Regions from separate parts of the Homo sapiens genome. Here regions 1 and 3 are each linked to region 2. Evidence: promoter capture Hi-C in human tissues and cell types (Jung and others, 2019). All regions are on one chromosome and are shown on one strand. The core of a region is centred on a gene start or on the middle of the fragment in contact, and the rest is flanking DNA. Distances in the headings are between cores, read along the strand shown. Region 1 overlaps CHAF1A (chromatin assembly factor 1 subunit A). Region 2 holds the start of ZNF77 (zinc finger protein 77). Region 3 holds the start of ZBTB7A (zinc finger and BTB domain containing 7A).

What was found. Contacts are between HindIII fragments. The study calls those that stand out against the background at their distance.
Region 1: a fragment that was not itself captured here is called in contact with the fragment with the promoter of ZNF77 in region 2 in 1 of the 25 tissues and cell types used here (dorsolateral prefrontal cortex).
Region 3: the fragment with the promoter of ZBTB7A here is called in contact with the fragment with the promoter of ZNF77 in region 2 in 1 of the 25 tissues and cell types used here (spleen).

The regions. Positions count from the first base shown.
Region 1 is chr19:4,414,852-4,417,998 of GRCh38, reverse strand. All of the region lies in intron 3 of CHAF1A (chromatin assembly factor 1 subunit A), which reads right to left. Among named protein-coding and RNA genes, the nearest start is that of CHAF1A, 14 kb to the right of the region's middle. The HindIII fragment of the contact is 3,051 bases long and covers 273-3,147 here.
Region 2 is chr19:2,943,578-2,946,789 of GRCh38, reverse strand. ZNF77 (zinc finger protein 77) reads left to right here and starts at 1,819. Exons shown (of 4, transcript NM_021217.3): 1 at 1,819-1,952. The coding sequence starts at 1,950. RefSeq lists an enhancer at 1,424-1,583 and silencers at 1,654-1,903, 2,044-2,123. The HindIII fragment of the contact is 6,632 bases long and covers 1-3,212 here.
Region 3 is chr19:4,065,328-4,068,868 of GRCh38, reverse strand. ZBTB7A (zinc finger and BTB domain containing 7A) reads left to right here and starts at 1,970. Exons shown (of 3, transcript NM_015898.4): 1 at 1,970-2,187. RefSeq lists silencers at 1,120-1,449, 1,510-1,619, 1,830-1,889, 1,930-1,979, 1,990-2,189 and 2 more. The HindIII fragment of the contact is 23,363 bases long and covers 1-3,541 here.

The sequences.
Region 1 (3,147 bases), core at 549-3,048, 1.5 Mb before region 2:
CTTTAAACACGGGTTATTTCAATTGCTTCGAGAAAAAGAGAAACCTTTCCAGGTGATCAGTTTTTCCACCAACAGAACCAAAATGTCATAATAGGGTCACAAACTCCAGTAAGTGTGCATACATGTGTGTATCTGGGATTAGATAACAAGAGAGACTACGGAGGCAGATAAAGAAATGAGTGAAGGACACCAAGCACAAGAAAAACAAGGCAAGCTCAGAAATAAAGGCAACAGACAAGGCTGGGCGCGGTGGCTAACGCCTGTAATTCCAGCACTTTGGGAGGCCGAGGCAGACAGATCACCTGAGGTCAGGAGTTCGAGACCAGCCTGGCCAACGTGGCAAAACCCCATCTCTACTAAAAATACAAAAATTAGCCGAGCGTGGTGGCAGGTGCCTGTAATCCCACCTACTCAGGAGGCTGAGGCAGAAGAATCGCTTGAACCCAGGAGAAGGAGGTTGCAGTGAGCCGAGATTGCGCCACCATACTCCTGCCTGGGCAACAGGGTGAGACTCTGTCTTAAAAAAAAAAAAAAAAAAAAAGCGACAGCTGGCCTGGGCGACAGGGAGAGGATGGATTTGTAGCAAAGGAGAGAGGACCTGCCTGTCCAAAGGAGATGGAGTTCTTACAGGAATATAGATCCCTATTTGCTGGTCCTTCCAATTTCTCCAAGAGAAGCTGATATTAGGAATTTCATATGAATTTTTTTAGGTGTTTAAAAATGGACACAGACGGGCACAGTGGCTCATGCCTGTAATCCCAGCACTTTGGGAGGTCAAGGCGGGAGGATCACTTGAGCCCAGGAGTTCAAGACCAGCCTGGGCAATAAAGCAAGACCCTGTCTCTAAAAAAAGCTTTTAGTTAGTCGGGTGTTGTGGTGCACATCTGTAGTCCTAGCTACCCAGGAGTCTGGGGTGGGAGGAGCCCGGGAGGTTGAGGCTGCACTGAGCTGTCCAACCTGGGTGACAGAGTGAGACTGTCTAAAAAAAAAATAAAAAGATACTAAATTAATCAAATAAAACATGTCTCCAGGCTGGTTTCCTGTGCACCACTAATTTACATTCTGTCTAGCTCAACTCTGCTTTTTATTTTAATGTTATTTTTGAGATGGAGTCTTACTCCTGTCACAGAGGCTGGAGTGCAGCGAGTGCCACGATCTCGGCTCACTGCAACCTCTACCTCCCAAGTTCAAGCGATTCTCCTGCCTCAGCTTCTTGAGTAGCTGGGATTATAGGCGTGTGCCACCACACCTGGCTAATTTTTGTATTTTTAGTGGAGATAGGGGTTTCATCATGTTGGCCAGGCTGGTCTCGAACTCCTGACCTCAGGTGATCCACCCGCCTCGCCTCCCAAAGTGCTAGGAATTCAGGCGTGAGCCACCGCGCCCAGCCAACTCTGCTTTTTAGAATGTGGAGTGAAAGCTTAAGACAAAAGGGAAACTTGCTGGGGTTTTCTAGGACTTCTACCTTCTAGGGCACAATATTTTCTATCACCTACCTTCAAACTGAGCATGAGCTACTAGGAATTACCAATAGGATCCATGGTGTGACTCACCATCCACCTAAATGGTCCCAGGAAGGAAGACGAACAGGGAGTCTGGACTTTGGCCTAAGCTATCTCCCACCGGGGCAGGGAATCCTGAAAACCAAACTAGTAGAAGTGAAGAGCAATGGGAAGAGACGCTTAAGAGTGGGAAGAAATAGTTCTCCGGGTTCATTGCAGACTTGCAGTGTAAGACTGAAGTTGACTGAAAAACCAAAGGCCCATTTTCCTGGCAATGGTCTGAGGGGTCAACAAAATTATGTAAGTGATTTCTTTTTTTTTTTGAGACGGAGTCTCGCTCTGTCGCCCAGGCTGGAGTGCAGTGGCGCCATCTCGGATCACTGCAAGCTCCGCCTCCCGGGTTCAAGCGATTCTCCTGCCTCAGTCTGCCCAGTAGCTGGGACTATAGGTGCCCACCACCATGCCTGGGTAATTTTTTTGTATTTTTAGTAGAGATGGGGTTTCACCATGTTAGCCAGGATGGTCTCGATCTCCTGACCTCGTGATCCGCCCGCCTCGGCCTCCCAAAGTGCTGGGATTAAAGGCGTGAGCCACCGCGCCCGGCCAACAGTGATTTCTTTATCTGGGAAAGCTGAACCCCTGACTAGGACCTCTCACAGAATAAAAGCTTCAGATGAATGAGCTCAAGACAGCCTTTCCACCTGGGTCCCACTGAGTCCTTTCTGGACTAAACCTTTCTTTAGGGAAAGGCCGAGCCGTTGTGAGAAGGCTGCCCGTGTTGGCAGGAGCTCTTTCACCACCGAGATCAGGCCAGGGTGTTCAGTCTTTGCTGAGAATGTGGCAACAGAAATGCCAGCCCGAGGCAGCCTCACCAAATGCTGCAGAAAAAGCATCTGTCTCTCCAGCATCTACTCTGCCTGCCAAGGCTGTGTGCCTCTCCCCCACGCTGAGGGATTTAACTGCAGAATATGGGAGCCGCAGCTCTCCGGGGCTGCCCTTTGTGTTCAGAGATTATAATACGGAATGTGGTCTTGGGGTGGCGGGGAATTCAGTTCCTTAGTCTTGCCCATGCCTGAAGCTCAGCTGCAGAATCTCCTGCCTCTTACAATGCCCCCCCTCTGCTGTGAGTCCAGAGATAACAGACTTGATGTGACTGGCAAGAGCCCGCTCAGTAATATCCAACAACCAAAACAGAGCAATTACTGCTTAATTTAAAACTGGTATCTTTTTTGCTTTGCCAAACCCTCAGATGGACCTTGAAGTCTGACAGAACTTTATCTTCTTGAAATTTGACCCAAGTGTTTATAGATCTCACTCTCAAAATTCTATGCAACACTCCCACATTCTACCCAGCTGGAGCCCGGTCAGACAGCACCCTCAACTGCCAAAAACGTGATCCAGGATCCCAGAAGGAAGCCAAAACACAAAAACCGACAATCCCAAGGAGTCGCGACAGAGCTCACTATGTGTGGGCATGAAAATTCCTGCACCCTTTCTCAGATAATCCTCTCAGAGCCTATGGACTCTGATTTTATACTAAAGGGTATCTAATTTCTAAGCCCAGACCAGATAAGCCGCTAAAACCTGACAGCAGGGGAGCGGAGGCAGGGGGGAAAAGAGAAAACCTCCAATTGGCCCAAGCATG
Region 2 (3,212 bases), core at 570-3,069:
AAGGGTTTTGCCATGTTGGCCAGGCTGGTCTCGAACTCTTGACCTCAGGTGATCCACCTGCCTCAGCCTCCCAAAGTGCTGGGATTATAGGCGTGAGCCACTGCGCCCGGCCCTAGAGAATTTCTTAAAGTAAAAGGCTGTACTGTTCCTATGGTAATTGAATTCTTATTTTAACTCATTTGAGAAAATAATCATAGAAGTTTAAATAAATTTGAACTCGACGTGAAAATTCTGAATACTTTTATTCAGTTGAGCCGCAATTCCTAAAGCCTGGAACGCGACTGCTCATCTCCGAAAAGACTTTCCAGCTTGAGACAGAGTAGAAGTATAAACTCTATATCGCTTGCCATTTTACATACAAACATAATTGTCGTAATTCATGTTTTTACTGTGTCGACCTAAATAACAGGCTGTCTAAAAACGGTGGTAACAGTTCATTGCAGTGGGAATATGCGCGGCATAGCAAACTATGTGCTTATTCAGGGAGGTAAAGGAAGACAAAGGTTGTTTTTGGTTTTCATTTTTTTGAGACGGGGGTCTCTGTTGCCCAGGCTGGAGTACAATGGTGAGATCACAGCTCACTGCAGCCTCAATCCCCACGGGCTCGAGCGATCCTCCTGCTTCAGCCTATCAAGTCGTTGGGACCATAGGCGCACACTCCTTTATTCCCAGCTAATTTTTGTATTTTTTGTATATATGGGGTTTTGCCATGTTGCCCAGACTGGGACAAAGGTTTATAAAGGAAAAAAAAAATTTTAAATGAGGATTACATCATTTTTCAGAAATAATTATCCTTGTCTACAAAGATCAGTAACAAGGGTCACACCAGTCTGAGTGTCCCTGTAAAAGTATTTTTTGTTTAAGCCTGTGGTTTTTGTAGAGTCTTTTTCGTTATTAAGCATATAAATGTGAGACCTCTCTCTTCATGACCTTACGTGGTTCTGTTTGTGGGAGGGCTGCTTTTTTTTTTTTTGAGACTCAGTTTCGCTCTTGTTGCCCAGGCTGGAGTGCAGTGTCCTGATCTTGGCTCACTGCAATCTCCGCCTCCTGGGTTCAAGCGATTCTCCTGCCTCAGCCTCCGGAGTAGCTGGGATTACAGGCGCCCGCCACCGTGCCCAGCTAATTTTTGTATTTTTAGGAGAGAAGTGGTTTTCGCCATTTTGGTCAGGCTGGACTTGAACTCCTGACCTCTGATGATCCGCCGGTCTCCGCCTCTCACGGTGCTGGGATTACCGGCGTGAACCACCGCGCCCGGCCGAGAGTTTTAAGAACACAGGGAGCGCCTGGTGGGGTCCGGCCTCCTGGGGCCTCGTCGTCTGGTCTCCAGATCTCCAGGTCTCTGGACCCCAGGCGTCCGCGCCCACGCGGGACAGCACGGTGACGTCACGCACGCGGGTCCCGCCCCCACGCAGGACTCCGCCCCATGGGACTCCGTGCCCTTCCTCTCCTCCCCGCACGAGGGGCCGCTCCGAGGGGAAACTGAGTCTGGAGTTGCCGTGCAGTCAGGGAGGAGGACGCCGCGCCCTCCCTGGACTGGAGTGAGTTCTCCCAGATCCGCGGCTGCCCGGCTAGAGGGTCAGCCACGCGTGTTCTCGACGAGCCCGTCACTGAGGAGAGAATTATCCAATCAGGACAGGCAGGGGCGGGGCCTAGGGAACTGTCCAATCAGAGACGTTAATCCGAAGCGGAGCCCTGCCCAATCAAGGGCGCTAGGGGGACGGACTGGAGAATTCTCCAATCAGGGGTGCGGAGTCGACAGCACTGTCCAATCAGAGTCTCCACTTCCCGAGATCTGTCCAATCAGACCCCGAGGACGGTAAGCCGAGTTCCCCTCTGCCTTGCGCGCTTCCCCGCCTACCCCGAGCGGCTCAGGTGTCCTGTCGTGCTCACCTGCGCCGGTCGCTGGACCGCGGGGCGCTAACCCTGGAGAGCCCAGGAGCGGGCGGGACATGGTGAGTGCCGGGCGGGAGCCGAGCCCGGGCCCAGGGCGAGGTGGGGCGGCAGGAACCGGCTTCCGCCCGAGTTCGCAGCCGGAGAAAGCTGAGGGACGCGCGGGGCGGCGCACGACGAGCGCCTGGGCCCCGGGGACGTGGTCACAGCGGCCGAGGGGTAGGGCTGGGGGCAGTCTGGGGTGACAGCAAAAGCGGTCAGGGGCTCGAGGGGTAGTTTCTGGGGACAGTACAGGTCAGGAGTTTGGGGAGAGCTTGTGGGGACAGCAGAGGTGGTCAGGGGCTTGAGGCAATTTAAGTGGACAGTAGAGGTTTAAGGGGCACAGGGGCAGTTTGCGGGAACAGACACGGTCAGGGGCTCGGCGGCAGTTTGGGGGTTCAGTGGAAGGGAGTCAGGCTCAAGGGCAGATTAGGGGGCCAATAGCAGCGGTCAGGAACTCGGGGACAGTTTGAGGGGGCCGTAGAGGCGGTCATGGGTTTGAAGGGGCAGTTTTGGGGGACAGGTGATCAGGGGCTCGAAGGCAGTTTAGGGGGACAGTAGCTGCAGTCGGGAGTTTGGGGGCAGCTCGAGGGGACAGCAGAAGCAGTCAGGGGCTCAGGGGCACTTTAAGGGGGGCAGTAGAGGCGATCAGGGGCTTGAGGGAAGTTTGGGGGGACAGTAAAGGGAGTCGGGCTCGAGGGATGTGTTGGGGGACAGTAGAGGCAGTCAGGGGATCGGGGAGAGTGGGAGGAGAGGGCAGGAGCCGTCAGGGGCTTGGTGGTCAGTTTGGGAAGGTCTGCCAAGGAGGAGGTGGTGCCCTGTCCTGGAGCCTGTCAAATAATAAAATCCTGGGCCGGGCGCGGTGGCTCACGCCTGTAATCCCAGCACTTTGGGAGGCCGAGGCGGGCGGATCACCTGAGGTCAGGAGTTCCAGACCAGCCTGGACAACATGGCGAAATCCCGTCTCTACTAAAAATACAAAAATTAGCCCGGCGTGGTGGCGGGCGCCTGCAATCCCAGCTACCAGGGAGGCTGAGACAGGAGAATGGCGTGAACCTGGGAGGTGGAGCTTGCAGTGAGCCGACATGGCGCCGCTGCACTCCAGCCTGGCGACAGAGAAAGACTCCGTCTCAAAAACAAAAACCAAAAAAAAAAAAAAAAAAAAAAATCCTGGCTAGAGAAGGAGAGAGAAAAATAGGGATAAGCCCCAGCCTCCGAAACCTGCCAGGTCTCAAAATCAACCAGGAAAAGGCTTTACTTTCATACACAAGAAAAGGTTTGGA
Region 3 (3,541 bases), core at 721-3,220, 1.1 Mb before region 2:
AAAACTCTGTATCTACTAAAAATACAAAAAAAAAAAAAAAAATTAGCCGGGCGTGGTGGCAGGTGCCTGTAATCCCAGCTACTCAGGAGGCTGAGGCAGGGGAATCGCTTGAACCCGGGAGGCGGAGATTGCAGTAAGCCAAGATCGTGCCATTGCACTCCAGGCTGGGCGACAGAGCAAGTCTGTCTAAAACAAAAAACAAAAAAACAAAACAAAAAAAAACGTCTGGGCATCATTTGCAGAAATCCAAACACAACAGTGGGATCTGGGAAGAATCGTGCTTCAGCGTGGCCTCCTGGTCCCGAGGCTGATGGCCGGTGGTTGAAGGAAGAAGGATTTCTATCCCAGGCAGGGTCCTTGGAGCAAAGTCCCTGGATGACACCCTCGCCCTAGATCCACGCGGCCCCTCCCTGGGTCCCTTCCCACCTACCCGGCTGGTTTCAGGCTGCGAGTCCTGAGACAGTCCACTTCCCCTCCGGGGGGCCCTCCCGGGTTTCCCCTCGTAGCCAGATTATTATTACAAAAGCCAATCCAACCCGTTTGGGTGTTGAAAGGCGCTTTTAATAAATTGTGCGAAGAAGCCATAAACTGTGTCTCTCGCAGGAGAGGCTTTGAAGTCAGAGGACAGGCTGGGTACACTACACCCAGGCCGGTGGTGGTTCCCGCTGTCAGGTGGTGTTGGTACTAAGAATGCCAGATAATAATAAAACATAATAATGACCCTGGGATTAGGTGTTAGAATGAAGGCACAGTGAGCCCCGGAACAGGGTCACCCACTGGATAAGCGCTCACTAAACGGCAGCTAAAGCAGCTGTCAGTACTCTCTCTGTCTGGAGGAATGAGGAAGGGGAAACTGAGTCCTGGAGCCCTCCCCCCCCCCCCCAGGCGCGCGGTCGCACCAGCCAGCCCTCCCCGGGCCGGGCCAGGACGTTCTCACCACTCGTGCCCTGCTCCCCCTTCCCTGTCCCCCGCCGGACCTCTCCCACGACCGGGGAGGAAGTGGGAGAAACGGACAGGGGAAAAAAAAAAGTCGCGCTGAACCAACGCCTCCCCACTCCCCACCTCCGCCCCTCGCGAGCCATGCAGACCCCCTTGTGCCAAGGAGCGGCCCGCGCGGACCAGGCGTCCAGGGCCCGGTCCCCGTCCCGCCCCGCGGCCCGCAGCCGGGTGGGGGAACTCGCGAAGCCGGGAAAACAACCGCCCTCCCCGCCCCTCGCCAACCCCTTCCCCCGCTGACGCCCCTAGCGCAGCGGGGTGGAGGCGACTCCTTTATATAATCGCGGGAGGGCAGGTTGGTGGTTTCATTTAGGGACCCGGGAGCCCCGCGGACCCGGGCTGTCCTTGGCAAGGCCACCCCCCGGGGTCCCTGGCGCGGCAAGTCCCACTGAGGCCCGGGGAGGCCCAGGGCCTGGCCTTGCGGGGGGATCCCCACCGCCTCACCCCCAACCCACCCCCGGCAGCCCAGGCCGCGCGACCCACACGCCCGCGTCGCTCCTCGCTGTGCGCACCGCGCTCCCCGCCCCCGCTGCCATCCTGCCACGCCCCGGGCGTCGGGGGCACAGCCCGCGCCCCCCCGCACCCCGCCCCTGCGCAGAGGCTGGGGGCCTGTTTATCTGGAGGCCCCCACCCCCCCTCCACCCCGGGGGGCCCGCTCCCCCCGCGCCCCGGGGAGCTCTGGGGCCAGATAAGCTGGCAAGCTGGCACGGCGCCGCGCGGCGGGGCGGAGAGGTCAGAGGCGGGGGGGCGCGCCGGGGCGGGCCGGACCCCCCCCCCCGACTTGACAAAACCTAATAACAGCCCGGTCTCCCCGGCGCAGCGGGCGAAGCCCCACGGGAGGGCAGAGACGTGGCAAGAGGGGACCTGCCGAGCCTGTTCTGGCCTCCGAGGCCAGGCTGGGGGGGGCGGGCTGGGCGTGGGGGGGCCGGCGGCTGCGGCACCTTTAAGACAAGGGAGGACCCCTCTTGCCCTCGGAGAAACCAGGAAGGGAGTCGCGAGCATCATACGGGGCTTTGGCTGTACTGTACAGTTACTGTAGGGGCAGTGACGCCGCCGCCGCCGCGCGAGGGAGCGACCAGGGCAGCGCGACGCGGGCAGAGCGAGCGCCGCGGACCCCGGAGGCGAGCGGCCGAGGGAGCCCAGTCCCAACTTCGGGCCCCGGCCCCGCGCGCCCCGGCCCGGCCCCGCGAGGTAAGTCAGCGCCCGGCGCGGCCCCCGGCACGGGGTGCAGGGCGGGGACGGGCGGGGGTCGCTGCGGCCACCGCTGCCCCCTCGGGAAGGGGAGATCCGGGGAGCCGGGGACGTTCCCCCAAGTTTCAGAGGAAGGGGTGGTTGGCAGCTGCCCGGAGGCTGGAGGCGCCCTGGATCCCGAGCGCGGGGAGGGGGCGCCGCCCGGGAAGGGGGGATTGGGGGCTAAGTGCATGAGCTTGTGCGCCAGCCCCCCCCAACCCGGGTGCATGGCTTTTCGGGGCTCCCAGGCGCGCGGGGAGCGGGGGAGGGGAAGCAGGGCTGCATTGAGGGTGGGGGGAGCCGGCGTGGGGAGATAGGGGGGCGCGTCGCCTGCTAAGTTTCCAGCTGAAGACGAGGGGCGCTCTCGCCCCCCGGGGGCCTATTCGGTGCTGCGTGCATACGTTGGAGTTGGCCAGGATTGAGCTCCATGGGGGATGGGGGGGAGGGGGCTGAAAAAACAGGGAGGGGGGCTTCGGAAAGGAGGGGGAAGGGGTGGGGTGTCCGGGTGGGCGGGCAGGGCCGCAGGGACCTCTGGGCTTCGTAGTCCCTCCGCCGTTTGCAGCCGGCAGGTGGCAAGCGGCTTGGACTACAAGTCCCAGGGTGCCCCGCGCCGACAGCCCGCCGCGGCCTGCGGGTAGGGGCGGTGCGGAGGAGGGGCGGTGAGCGGCGGGCCGGAGAGCCAATGGGCGCGGGCCGATCGCGCGGCGCGGCGCGGGGGCGGGGCCAGCCCGCCAGGGGGCGGGGCCTGGAGCCGGGCTCCCCTCGCCGGGGGCCGGTGGCGGTCCCGGCTTCCGGCTGCGCGGCCCGCGGGCCGGCCCCCTCCCCGCCCCGGGGCCCCTCCCCGCCTGGTTGTGTAACCGTCCCCAGCCCCCCTCCCCTCGGCCCCCCGCCCGTGGGGGGGGGGTCACCCTCCCCGCGCTCCCCGGGGAGGGCGGCGGCCCGGGCGGCCGCGCGGTGCAGGCGAGCCCGGGGATGCGCGGCCTAGCGCAGGCCGGGCCCGGGCGTGGGGGAGGCGGGCGGGCGGACCCAGATCCGGGGTAATTTGCATCGCCCTCCCCCCAGCCCGGGTGGGGATTGGCCGCCGGCGGCGGGGGGTGGCGCGGGGCCAGGCTCACTGCCGCCTCCCGGCCCCTCGGAGGGAGCCAGCCCAGCCGCAGCCGCCGCCACCGCCGCCGCCGGGGCCGGGCCCCCTCGCCGCTGCCCCGGGAAGGAGGTAGGAGCCCCCCGCGCGGGCGAGGCGGCGGGGGACCGCGGGCCGGGCGGGGGCCGCGCGCTGCGGCCGGGGCGGGGGAGGGGGCCGCTTCCTGCCCCCGCC